Regions from separate parts of the Homo sapiens genome. Here region 1 is linked to region 2. The links are contacts of gene promoters, found by promoter capture Hi-C in blood cells and fetal thymus (Javierre and others, 2016). All regions are on one chromosome and are shown on one strand. Each heading gives the region's core, a stretch centred on a gene start or on the middle of the fragment in contact. The rest is flanking DNA. Distances are from core to core; before and after follow the strand shown. Region 1 has its middle 94 kb from the start of CDH5. Region 2 holds the start of CDH11 (cadherin 11).

Region 1 (6,833 bases), core at 1,170-3,669, 1.2 Mb before region 2:
ATCATAAAATAGTGGCAGTATTTTTCTTTAGTCAAAAGTCAACCAAATATATGCTGCTTCAGCAGCTGGATTGTAACCTCTAAAGAAGGAGGTTCCAATGATATCAAGGGAGGAAGAAGGAAATAGCAATTCTTTTCCAACTCCAGCTCCGTCTGTTTCAGTCTCTGCACCAGGCACTTTACTCACGTGGTCTTTTTTACATCTTGTAAAGCAGGTGGTGTTATCCCCATTATGCAGATGAGGAGCCTGAGGGCTGGGGAGGGTATGTGACTTTCTATGTTCTGAGCTGTAGAAGCTGGATTTGAACCCAGGTCTGCCTAACAGCAAAGTTGGTAAAATACCTGAGACTGGGTAGTTTATAAAGAAAAGAGTTTTAATTGGCTTATGGTTCTGCAGACTCTACAGGAAGCATAGTGGCTTCTGCTTTTGAGGAGGCCTCAGGAAGCTTCCAATCATGGCAGAAGGCAAAGGGGGAGCAGGTGTCCTACATAGCAGGGGCAGGAGCAAGAGAGAGAGACAGTGAAAGGGGAGGTGCCACACACTTAAATAACCAGATCTCATGAGAACTCACTTACTATCATGAGAACCGCACCAAGAGGGTGGTGCTGCACCATTCATGAGAAACCCACTACCATGATGCAGTCACCTCCCACCAGACCCCGCCTCCAACACAGGGGATTACAATTTGACATGAACTTTGGCCAGGGACACAGATCCAAACCATATCAGTCTTTTTTCCATGACACTGAGCAAAAGGACCCAATCTTGGTCATATGTGTCCCTCACCCACCCCCAATGTGCCCAACAGAGTTCAGCAAGTGTTTATTGCACGAATGAGGCTAGAGATGCAACCAAGGAGACGCAGAGGAAACCAGCCTTGCCCCGCCACCTGCCCCCGCTTCCTTGCCTGTATGTCTGTTGACTTTTGCTTTCCCTTGGTTTATGCTCTAGGGGCCTGCGGGGTTTCTGAGCCTGGGCAAAACTCACTGAGGAAGGGAAAAAAATCTGCTCACCAGGTCACACAGCACATTTAAACAGATTAGGCAAAACCTCTCCCTTTCTCAAGACACTTCCATATATGGAAAATTATTGTAATGTACTGATTTTCTTAGCATGAGTCTCTTTACTGCCATCTTCTGGAAGTTTATGACAGTATACACATTTATGATTATGATGGATAGCAGGCAGTCCTTTGCACCCTAGGTGTGACACTCTTGTGCCACTTCTCTGTGGTGGCCATTCAGGGAGATGAATCTGGAACCTTCTGAAGCCTAGGAGAAGAGGTTTATGGATTCTATTTTTCTGTTTGGATTTGTTACCCTGGTCCTGCCCATTGTAAATCTCTGGGCTTCTTCGTGTTCACTACGCCCGCCCATACCTGATCTTGCCCTGGGGCCTGTAAGGAGTCTTGTTTAAATGCAAGCCATTGCAGGAGTGAAGGCTTAACATCCCATGAACTCCTTTAGTTTTCTGCCTCAGTTTCCTTGCTGGGCTGACAGCTCCGCCACCTGACCTAGCTTTGACCAGCCCTGGGACCTTGGCCACTGGAGGGTGCTATTAGCTGGGTTATTGCTGGGATAAACTTGACCACTGGACCTCACTGGCTGGGAACCTTTGAATGTCTTCTATTGGACTGTTAGTCATTCTCCTTTGGGGCTTACAAGGTTCACTCACTCAGTCACTCACTAATTCAATTCATGAGTTCAGCAGGTAATGACTAAGTCCCCACACCATGCCAGTACTGTGCTAGGCACTGGGGGATCAATGGTGAGAAAAACAAGCAAACAAGCACATGGGATGCAGCAGACACCTCTGGCACCCTGCTCATCACATTCCTTGGCCAGCTGTGATTTCAGTGCCAGCGACAGTGGCCGGTGGCCGTTTCCCTGACAGCTCAGAAAGCTTGCCTTGCTCTTACAGCATCCACTTCATGTATGGGACAGATGCCTGTTGGTTTTCTGCCTCAGGGTCTTCTCCAGCGTTGTGGGAACACTCTTAGCCCATGCAAGCCTGGCGGTGTGAAGGCACGAGTTAAAATGTACCCAGGATTTGTTTTAATCAGTATGGTCAGACACGCAGGCAGGGAGATGATTGTCATAAAGGAAGAAGTTTATACTAAGTACTCTAGAAATGGGAGGCACTGCACACTGCTACCTGGAACACATGGGAAGCGCCAGGGTCAGAAGGCAGAAGAGGGAGAGGGGAGAGCAAGGCTCAGAGCCTTTGTTGAGGATTTCTTGGGAAGGTGTGGGCAAGGCAGGGTAGGTAGACTGAGTTAGCTTAGGATGGATAGTGTGAATCACTGTGGAGGGCTCTGGGCTTTCAAGGTCATTCCTAGTTGTCTGGTTCTTGGCCCTGTAGTGATTTAGGGCAGAGAGAATATTGACTTGGCAGTTGGACGGTTGGGGGTGTGGGCTCTGGAACGATTGCTTTGTACATCAAAGGTGCAGTCACAGGGGAGTCCTTTGCTGTCTCTAGGAATTAGCTAGCTCTGGGAGGGGCAGTCTCTCCAGGATCAAGGCCCCAAATGCCGGAGCATCAGGAATACAGAAAATAAGAAAATGCAGTCAATACAGGGCATGAATCTTGTCCGGGGAAGCTCTCAGCCAATGAGGGCTGGGAGCTGGTGGATGAATGCTCCAGGCTCTTGGCCTTTAGGGGACTGATTCTGGGGACTTCATGCTGCTTGTCAGGAGGTCCCAGCTGCACTGAGCCTCTGTTGCCCAAAGCATTGATGACCGCAACACAACTTTTAATGATCTTACTCCTCCCTATGCCATTTTCCCTCAATCCTTCACTCTTGCTGTCTGGGAACCTCTCCCAAATAAACAACCTGCACTCCAGTCTTATCTCAGGCTGTGCCTTCTGGGAACCCCACATAAGCCACCTGACCCCTGCTGCCTTAGAGCTTTACACTAGGCTCGGGAAAAGCTTCCTGGAGAAGAAACCATTTTTCTTGCTGCTGAAGAAAGACTCATTGTGTCATGGGTGAAAGGGGTAGGGGGAGAGCAGTCGAGGCAGAGCGAGCCACACATGCAAAGGGCCTGAGGCTGGTGGGAGGAGCATGGCCTGTTCCAGGAAGGTGTCAGGGGCTCCCCAGACCCCCGTCCCCACAGATCCAAGTTCCCAGCATGCCTTGCACCAAGGTCCAGCCATTTACAAAGAAAGAGCGAGTCCATCTGAGTGTTGACACATTCAGCGGCTCAGGTAATGTGTTTATTTTTATTTTTATTTTTGAGACAGAGTCTTGCTTTATCACCCAGGCTGGAATGCAGTAGCACCATGTTGGCTCACTGCAACCTCCGCCTCCCGGGTTGAAGCAATTCTCATGCCTAAGCCTCCCAGAAAGCTGGGACTACAGGCATGCACCACCACGTCCGGCTAATTTTTGTATTTTTAGTAGAGATGAGGTTTTGCCGTGTTGGCCAGGCTGGTCTCGAACTCCTGGCCTCAAGCAACCTGCCTGTCATGGATTGGACATGTGAGTCACCAAGCCTGGCCTCAGGTAATGTGTTTTAATAAGCAGCTGTTTGGTGTCCTTCTCCAGGGTAGTGGTAATGGCAGGGAACAATGAGACTGATGGGGTGTGTGTGAATGGCACCCTTCTTGCCTTTCTCCATCCCAAGGTTTTATCAAGATTCATCCCTCTCTTGGTCCTGGGGTTGCAGGGCCTGACCGGCACAGAGGAATCTCTGTGTAGTTTCCAACACCACTCATTCACAAAGGGGAAACTGAATCCCGTGTTAATCTTTCCACTTCAAAGATGATTCCAGGTGAATGTGGGAGCCCAGTCTCAGAGACGCCCCTCTCCTTCTGGCTCTGGTTCCCCTCCCTCCCCTGTAGCCTGCCCACTGAACTGGGCCTCTGGGCTCAGCTCTGCAGTCTGCAGGCCACCGGGAGGAGGTGCGCAGAGATCTGGACGGGTTTACAACAGCTTGACTGGAAAACTTGGGGATTTCAGATCTCAGCTAAGAGGAAGTCTCTGGAATGCACAGACCCTAGCCCCCTTGTCTTTGGGGCCAGGCACAAAAATCAGGAGTTCAGTGAAGTTTCTGTCCTTGCATTTCTTCCAAGGGTGGGGCTCGAGAGAAGGGAGGGCCAGAGCTGAATCTGAAGCCACAGTGAGTCACTGTGCCACGGGCATCTTCTGAGGCTTGGAGAAGTCACCTAGACAGGCATAAGCTCCATGATGCATTCTTCTCCAAAACCTGCTTACCTCTACCCTGGTGGACCCATCCCCAGGCCAGCAGAGATAGAGAGGCCTGGGTGCATGGGATGGGGTGGGGCGGGCAGAACTCCTCTCCCTCCATTCAGCTGCCCAAACCTTGGCCTGGGCAGCTCCCTGTGTGTGAGCCCAGTCTGGGGCTCCCCGCCTCACTGCCTCATCCTGATGCCAGGCTCTGGAAAGGAGCTGGGAGACTTCTAATAAGGCTTCCTAGACCCCTCACACAAAATGGAGGCAGACGCGCTCCAGCACTGCCTTGTCTTAGAAGTAAATTTTCTCTTTCTGCCCCCTCTCATTCCTTTTCTCCCCTTTTCTCTTTTGCAATCAAGGCTGCCTGGGTTAAAATCCTAGCTTCCCCTCTACCTGTGTGGTTTTGGGTGAGTTCCTTAATCTCTCTCTGTGTCTCAGTTACCTCGCCCAGGAGGGGATAATAATCGGTCTGAGGTGAGGACTAACGCCTGAGAAGTGCTTAGATCCAGGGAAGCCAGGATGGGAAGGTGTGAGCTGTTACTAGGGTGGGCAGTGCAGACGGCAGGGGCTGTCCTTTTGGAATCCTAAATTTCACACAGAAAAAGGACATGGCTTCCGCTGCCTGAGTTTGAACTAAAGTCCGATGAGGAGAGGGGTCACACTGGAATTGCTAATTACACATTTAGGGGAAGATAAGTGTCTATCCTCTTTAGGCGGTGGGGTGACAGCAGCGGGCACCCTGCTGTCCGCTTTTAAATACATACAGATGGGATACCTCGTTTGCCCAGGCCAGACGCCAGGTGGCAGCCATTTCGGAGCGCTAGGGACGGGGCGGGCTGTCTGGGAACCCGGGGGCCACGCAGCGGGCAGGCAACCTTCTGCTCCAGGAAGGCGTGGAGACGCGGCCGCTGCGTGCAGGACTCCCGTAGCCGCCAGGGGGCGCTGTGGCCACGCGGCCGCCGCCGGCCTCCCAGCGAACCCGGACCCTGCGCTGCGCTCCCGGTTCGGCGCTGCCACCCCCAGCCCAGCCCTGGCGGCCCGCTCACAGGCCCCGCGGGGAGCACCCGGTCTCCTGCCGAGCGTGGGGACCCAGCTGAGATCCGCTGCCCCTCTGGCCTCAGTTTGCGCTTCTGCAAAGTGGCACCGCCTGCCGCCCGCGTGGCAGCTCCTCAGCTCGAGGCCTTCAGGTTTCTCTTCTCAGTCACTGGGCCCTGAACTCGGTGCCGCACTCAGCCAGATCCCGGCTGAGATCCCTCTGATCTCAGCACCAGAGAAGGCTGCTTTCCTCCCTCCCTCCTTCATTTTCTCCCCTTCCTCTCCCTCCATTTTTCCTTTCTTCCACCCTCTCCTTTCTCTCTTCGTTTCCCTCTCCTCTGCTTCTCCCTCCCTCCCTCCCGTCCTCCCTTCCTTCTTTTCTTCCTTTCTCCCTCCCTCCCTCCTTCCTGGGGCCTTACCTCCCCCCTCCCTCTCTCTCTCCCTCCCCTCCCTCCTCGTCTCTCTTCTTCCCTCCCTCCCTCCTTCCTGCTTTCCGTTCTTCCTGGGGCTCTCCCTCCCCCTGCTTCCCTGTCTCCCTCCCTTCCTCTTCTCTCCCTCCCTCCCTGTCTCCCCTCCCTCCCTCTCTCTAACTGCTGGTTCAGCAGAGGACTCTTGGTTTGATTCCGGGTCTCCCCTCCGCAGAGGGGACCTGCTTTCCTGTGCAGTGCAGGGTCTATCCTGCTGCCCCCAGCCCCCTCCCTCCCTCCCTCCCTCCCTCCAGGCATCTTTGACTTGATTGTTGGAACCCTGAACTCACCTTGGGCCGCAGGCCGCAAGTTGGACAAACTTGTTCTAGTGTGCTGTCAACAATGAGAGGGTCATTTCCAACTGGAGGGTGACAGATCACACAGAAATTCGGGCCTCCCCGTAACCCGAGTCCTGAGCAGGGAGTACCCTCTGGAAATACCAGCTAACACCATGTCTCCATGAAACTGACCAAGGAGTGAAAATCATTTCTTTCTGAAAGGGACGCTACACATTCATCCTTTTAAAGGCAGGGATAAAATATGGAAAGGGTCTAAAAGTGCTGCATCTCTCTGCCTCCTTGACCCCAGCCTCCCAGTTCCTCTTCCTGCAGGCAGCAATTGGTACAAGCTTCCTACATAGCTTTCCAGATACTCTGTGCAGAGAAAAACGTGTCAGGCCATATGTCTCCTTTAGAAAATATAGCACCGTAGACAGGCTGCTCTATACCTTGCTTTTGACTTAAAATATATTTTAAAAATGTATCTTAGAGACTGTTCAATATCACAATATGAGGTTGATCTATCTCTAGCTGAGTGGTGAAGAGGATGTCTCTGGGAGCACTACCTGAGCTTGAACTTGGGTCCTTCTCTTCCTGGCTGGTGACCCTGAGCAAATTACCTAACCCTTCTGTGCTTCTGTTTCCTCATTAAAAATATTAATACTATGTATTTCTTGAGGTCATTGTGAGCATTCAAGGACATAAACATTCTGCACAGGGCCTGGCACATGGCACATGCTCAATAAATGTTGGTTATTAGGATCCCACCTTGTTTACTTTATTTTTTCTTTTTGTTTTGAGACGGAGTCTCGCTCTTGTTGCCCAGGCTGGAGTGCAGTGGTGTGATCTCGGCTCACT
Region 2 (6,148 bases), core at 1,859-4,358:
GCATTTTGATTGCCCAACAGAATTCCCTCAAGTTCTATTTGCAGTCAATTCCTGTTCAAATCCTCAGCCCTGGGCAACCACGGCTTTATGTTTCTATAAGTTTGCCTTTCCAGTTCATATAAATGGCCATTTCATATAAATGAAAATCATACAATATGTTGTTTTTCATTTGGCTTTCAGCATATGTTTTTGAAGTTCATTCGTGATGTAGCAAACATCAGTATTTCTTCCCCTTTTATTGCTGAACAATATTCCATGGTATGGATACACCCTGTTTTCTTTATCTACTCACCAGCTGATGGGTATTTATGTTGTTTCTTTTGTTTATCTGCTCACCAGTTGATGGGTATTTGTGTTGTTTCCAGATTTTGGCTATTATAAATAAGGCTGCTATGAACATTCTGGTGTGTGTTTTTGTGTGAACATGTTTCCTGTTCTCTTGAGTAGAATCCTAACTTGCTGGGTTGTGCAAAGGGTTATTGACTGCTGCTATACACTAGGTTCCATCTGATTCAGGTGTGTAGTGTCAGTGGAAACTTATCAAGCAGTTTTTAACTTACTTTTTAAAATCGGCTGATGCACCCATTACTAAAGGGATGGTCTATAAAAACAACTGTTGTGATTCGATAAATGCTGAACAGAGAGGAGAGGTCAAAGTCCAGCTAATGTCAGCTGACATGTGGCCAGGTTCATCTTTGGACACGCTTCCAAAAGGGAGTTTATGAAACTTGCTTCATGGATCAAGAGATGTCCTAATCATTACAGATCCCGGGCATCTTTGTATAATATATGTATGATCAGATTGATCGTGACTTCACACTCCCTCTAGGACCACGTGGAAGGGTTGAGAAAATCCAGGCAATAGTTTGTAGCCAAACAAGAGCAAAACTCGAGTACCTCTGAGGGAAAGCCGGACCCCTTGTCCATCCTCTCCTGTGTAAGTAACTTCATTTATAAGCTGAAATGACGCCACCAGATCATCCTATTACCATCACCATGCCTCATTAGAGTGGGGACTTTCGGCGGTGGCTTGGGAAGTACCCAAAGTTTTAGGGGTTACAGCAGAGGCCAAAAAGGCAGACAGAGGAAGCAGGGTAGAGCTCTGAAAAGGTTCAGGGCCAGGGACCCACAGGGGGAGGCAGGAGTGGCAGGCACCACGATCTGCTCTCTGGCGCTCTACAGGAAAGCACCGGGAGTCAATGTCCTCGCGCGTCCCTTGCGCAGAGTGTGGTGCGAGGTTGGGGGGTTACTGGAGACCCAGGGGGCTATCACCTTGGACACCTATGGTGGGGGGAAGGCTGAGGAGTAAGATAACCGGGCAGCTGGAAACTTACAGCTCTTCCCCCGCAGTGGAGGAATGAGGAGTTCAAAGGCCACGTCCACACAGAGGGTGACAGAGGCATCCTCTCCGCGCAGGACGCGGACTGGGGGCAGGCACGCAGCGCCACCCGGATCCTGGAGTCGTCAAGAAAAACGCGGGCGCGCAGGCCGAAGAGGGTAGGTCCCGGGGCAGCCTCGCCGGCACCCGCCCCCGCGGGCGTCTCCCCAAGCCGTGTGGAAACCCGGGCGGCTGCGGGCGCTCGGGACCCGCGGGCTGGTGACCAGGAGCTGGAGGGCAGGGCTCGGCCGCTCTTGCCTTAGCCCCGCACTGGGGTTCCTTCCCCATGCGCTCAGGATCCCAAGCTTTCTCTTCCGTTTTCGGCCTCTTTTTCCGTTAACTCCTGGGCCCGTCTCCTCCCCTCTAGCCCTTTCAAACTGCTTGGCTGTGGCGCCCAGCTTTCCCTCCGCAGCCTCCTTCCCCGTCTTTTTCGCGGGTCCATCTCTTCTCCTTTCCCAGCCTCATCCCCGTCCCCCTAGGCGGTTCCTTTTTAGCCTTCACCCACTGGCGTCTCCACCTTCCTCCGCCTCCTCTCTTGCCTCCACCTCCCACCCTGCAAACTTGTTCAAGCCAGGGGTCCCCACACAGGCATGGTTGTTCCCTGCTGGGTGTGCGGATCCCCACGCCGTTCCCGGTACCGCGAGCGCCCCGCCCAGTCCTTGGCGTGATTCCTAAGCCCCGGCCCTGCCAGCCCTTTCTCCCGGCGACTCGGGGAGGGAGGGCAGGAAGCAGGCCCGGGGAACCCTCACGGTAGCGAGTCGTCAGTGAGGGGAACAGCGGAGGAAGGAGCTAGGACTCCGGCGCTGCGCCCCATTAGGCCCTTTCTCCCGTAGAAACGCACACTCCACCGGGCCCTGGCGGGTCTGTAGCGAGGGAGTGGCAACAAGTGACACTACCGGCGGGGGCCACTGATACCTGGCTGGGGTAGGGGCCAAGGCACCCTCCCAAAAGCTGGAGCGAGGCCGACCCCGGCGAAGCGCTCCCCGCGCACCCCTCTCCGAGGCGTTGCGTGGGGGGCACTAGACGAGAGGAGAGCTGAGAGAGAACGGAGACTGGGCTCTTCCCAAGTCCTAAGTCTCCCTCCCCGCCCGACTTCACCACCAGAGCCACCAGAAGAGTTTGCAAGGGATGGGAGATTGAGAGGGGTGGGGGCTGGGCAGGAGCCGCCAACGTTGAGGGATTTTTGGAAGGTGGGGTGGTGGAGTGAGAAAGAATAGAACGCGCTCCCGAATTCCCAATTGCTTCCCTCACTTGGACGATACCTTCCCCCAACCACCATCCCGGCCCGCCAGGCGAGAGCCCAGCCTGGCCAGCTGGAGCGGATTTGGGGGAAGGAGGAAAATGGGGGCTCCCAACCCCTCTCCAGCTTCCCTCCGCCGCCCTCCCTGATTGGCTGTGCGTCCCTGGAGCCCAACTTCAGTCGCTCCAGACTCCATCTGAGCCCTGAGGGAGTCGGAGCGCCGCGCCACGGGGCGGGAGGGGCGGCCACGAATCCAGGGGTTAGCATCTCTGGGCCCCTGGGGGGAGGGGCGCGGACGGGGTCGGCCCCCGCAGCCTCTGCGAGGCCCATCTCGCTGCCTCTCGCAGCCTCGGCTTCTCTCAGCCCCCGCCCTTTCCTTCCCTCACAGCGGCAGCCTCCCTCCTCCCGCCCCCCCCGCCCCGCACCCGCCTGCCCGCCCGCCACCTCCCCCCGGTTTCTCATTCCTGCCACTAGCGCGCTCGGCGGCTCATTCCGCGGCCGCCGCCAGCTGAGGGGAGCGTCGCGGGCCGAGGAGCAGATGCCGCGGGGGCCGCTCGCAGCCGCCGCTGACTTGTGAATGGGACCGGGACTGGGGCCGGGACTGACACCGCAGCGCTTGCCCTGCGCCAGGGACTGGCGGCTCGGAGGTTGCGTCCACCCTCAAGGGCCCCAGGTGAGGTGCGCCGCCAGTCCCTTCCTCTCGCCTGGTTGGGGCTTCTTGGAATGGGGGGCAGGATTTTCTCAGGAAGAGAATGTCTTGGCGGGGCGGGGTGGTGAGGGGGACGGTGGTATCTGAGTCGAGAAGGCTTCACTAACGCAAAGCAAAAGGGAGGGAGAGATTTGTTTAAAAATCAGAAAGGGAGAAGGGAGCCAGCTGTGGGCGCGGGCAAAGCAGGGGACGGAGGCTTCAGATGTGCGCTCCACGACTCTCCCTGGCTCCGGCCTCCTGTGGGGTCTGCGCCGAGGCCACAGCAGAGGGGGTTTGTACCTGGCTGGGGCAAGAGACTGCAGAGCAGACCTCCGGACACGCCGACTGTCCCCGGTCATATCTCTGGGGAAAGTCGCCCACGGCGCGGTGCCCGCCAGCCCTGCGCCGCTTCCCCAAAGCGGCGACATGACCGCGCTCTGCGGGGTTCTTACTCCATCCTCCCGGATCCCTGCCGAAAGCTCCCCGGGGCTTAGTCCCTGCAGTCGAGACTGCCGGGTAAGCCCGGGAAAACGGAAAGACCCCAGCTCCGGAAGGAGATTGCCCGCACTTTAATAGCGTGGGTTTGGGGCCGCCGACTGTGGTTCTGGGGCAGCAGGCTGCGGTGCGCTACAGCCCTCCAGCCCGAGTCTCTGCGGGAGCTCTGGCGCCCGTTTGTAAGCTCCCACCAGCGCAGGAGTAGGTCCATGAGCGGCCCAGACTCGGGCTCGCCTCTGGCTTGGGATTGGCGAAAGCTGCCAGGGTCAACGTTAACTTTGAGAACCACACCTTCCCGAAACCTGCGCCGCTTCTCGGAGCGCGCCAAGCCTCTCTAGCTCCCGGCACGCACGGCCTCCCTCCCTGCGCTCTGCCCCGGAACGCGAGCCGGGAGGTGGGAAGCACTGAGAAGCTGGCCAGATGGGGAGGACGGCGAGGAGAGCTCCCTTCTCCCCCCTCCCCAACCCAGAGGAACTGTAGGAGGGCCCGCCTCACGCTGTGAAGCGGAGTCCCCAGAGAAAGTGGGGTCGGGGGAGGCTTGCGGGTCCGGCTTCCTTGTCCGTTTTTTTGCCGAGGCCCTGCTTTCGCCCGGGGCTCGCCGCGCCTGCCTCTCCCGGGTGAAAGGTTTTCTAGGTGCTAGAAGAAGCCCTGTTGCTTTTGCTGATAATGCAGTAGGAATTTCATGGGCCATCACACTGCTATTAAGAAATCGCATCTTTTAATTATTTAATACCATCCCTGCCTGACGACGGGTTATCCCTAAGGGATGGGAGTGGGGGGTTGTTCTTGAAACCCGGCTGTATGAGGGTATAGATTTCACTAAAGTCTTCCCCCTTCGTCTCCCCCTAAAGAAATCGTGCTACGATCGCTCTGAAATCTTTTCTTATTTTCTTCTTCTAATCATGGCTATCGGTTTAATATGAGGCAGTAAGTTTTCGTTTTAATCACAGGGAGGCTACCATAATTAATCTGGCTAGAGGACGGATCAATTTCCTCATCACTTGGGCTTGCAGCAGACGTCGATGGTTTTGCGGGGTGTCTGGATTTCCTGGGGATGGGGATGCAGATGTGTTCTCAGGAGCGAGGATCCTGTAGCATCGCATGAGCACATTTGCCAGGCTGGGCTCTGAGCGCTAGAGCCTAATATGTTGGCAGAGAAGAGAAGGGACTGACCTTCTTTTCGTTAATCCTGGAATTGTTTTTCCTACAAATACGTAGGTGCAGACACCAGAACAGAAATATTAACTGCCCAACCCTAGCTGCAGGGAGCCTGGTCTTCTTCCAATAGGACAAAGGAAAAAAAGTTACAAAACAAAGGGACAGAGTTGTGGCCAATACGAGAAGCACTCTGAGGCTCCAGCTACTGAAGTTCCTTAAATGTAATCTCTGATTCCAAGTTTTAGAGTTGGCCAGTGGGCTCTGGAATTCGAACCTCTGTGAAAAACTGAAATCCAGCCTAGTACAAAAGGAATGTGAGTGCTTTTCAGTAGAGACCAGGGAAAGGCATCTGAAAGGCCAGGAAACTTTGCTTGAGTAAGGATTATCTTTACATCTTACTTTTGAAACATTGTAAATTAAGACATTAAAATGTCTTGCAGGCATGCACTATTATTAATAAAAATTATTACTATCATTTTAGTTGTTACTTCAGAGTCTGCATAAACTGGGCATTTTATGACATTGTTTGAAAGAATAAACCACCCTCCTCACCCCTGGGAAAGGGGGAATGAAGGCAGGCCTTGGAAGGATTGAGACTGGATAATCTGGCGAGCCCCAGACATGTAGATTTATTCAAATGGCTGCTTATTGCTGCCTAGGAAAATAAGCTTTTAAAATAGTTCTAACTGAAGCAGTGGACCATCTTGATAGCACTTCAGAACTTTCATTACGTTCAGCATTCTTATCAGAACACCAGACAGTAAAATTACTAGAAACCTAAATTCTATTTTCAATTAAGATGCAATCTTTTGTTAATTTGAAAATTTAAAAAAAATAGTTATGGCGCAATTTTTTTTATGTCTTAGAACTCATGTTCCCTCTGTAGAGTGGTGGCTGTGGATGTGCATGTTTGATTGTTTATTTGTGGGAGGAGGGGGCAGGGGACAGACTTGGAGAGCCACGCCATGATTTGGGGGAATACGGATCAATTTCATGCTCTTTTAATGCACTTGTCTTCATAATTCATGGTTTTTCTTCTCCTTTGAATAGAATTACATGGCTGCTTTGTAAAGATTCTGGTTTGGGGACCCTCATATGGGAAACGCCATGACATTGACCTCGTGGTCTGATTTACAATGCCAGTACTGCGCTCCCAGGAGCATAGCATGTCCTGGAACCTTGCCTGTGA

The links. The method cuts DNA at HindIII sites, captures the fragments that hold promoters and counts their contacts. A CHiCAGO score of 5 or more calls a contact.
Region 1: a fragment that was not itself captured here is called in contact with the fragment with the promoter of CDH11 in region 2 in 3 of 17 cell types (endothelial precursors, M2 macrophages and M0 macrophages); the score reaches 8.7 in endothelial precursors.

The regions. Positions count from the first base shown.
Region 1 is chr16:66,268,904-66,275,736 of GRCh38, reverse strand. No RefSeq gene overlaps it. Among named protein-coding and RNA genes, the nearest start is that of CDH5, 94 kb to the left of the region's middle. The HindIII fragment of the contact is 1,029 bases long and covers 1,905-2,933 here.
Region 2 is chr16:65,119,023-65,125,170 of GRCh38, reverse strand. CDH11 (cadherin 11) reads left to right here and starts at 3,108. Exons shown (of 13, transcript NM_001797.4): 1 at 3,108-3,291. The HindIII fragment of the contact is 3,944 bases long and covers 1,686-5,629 here.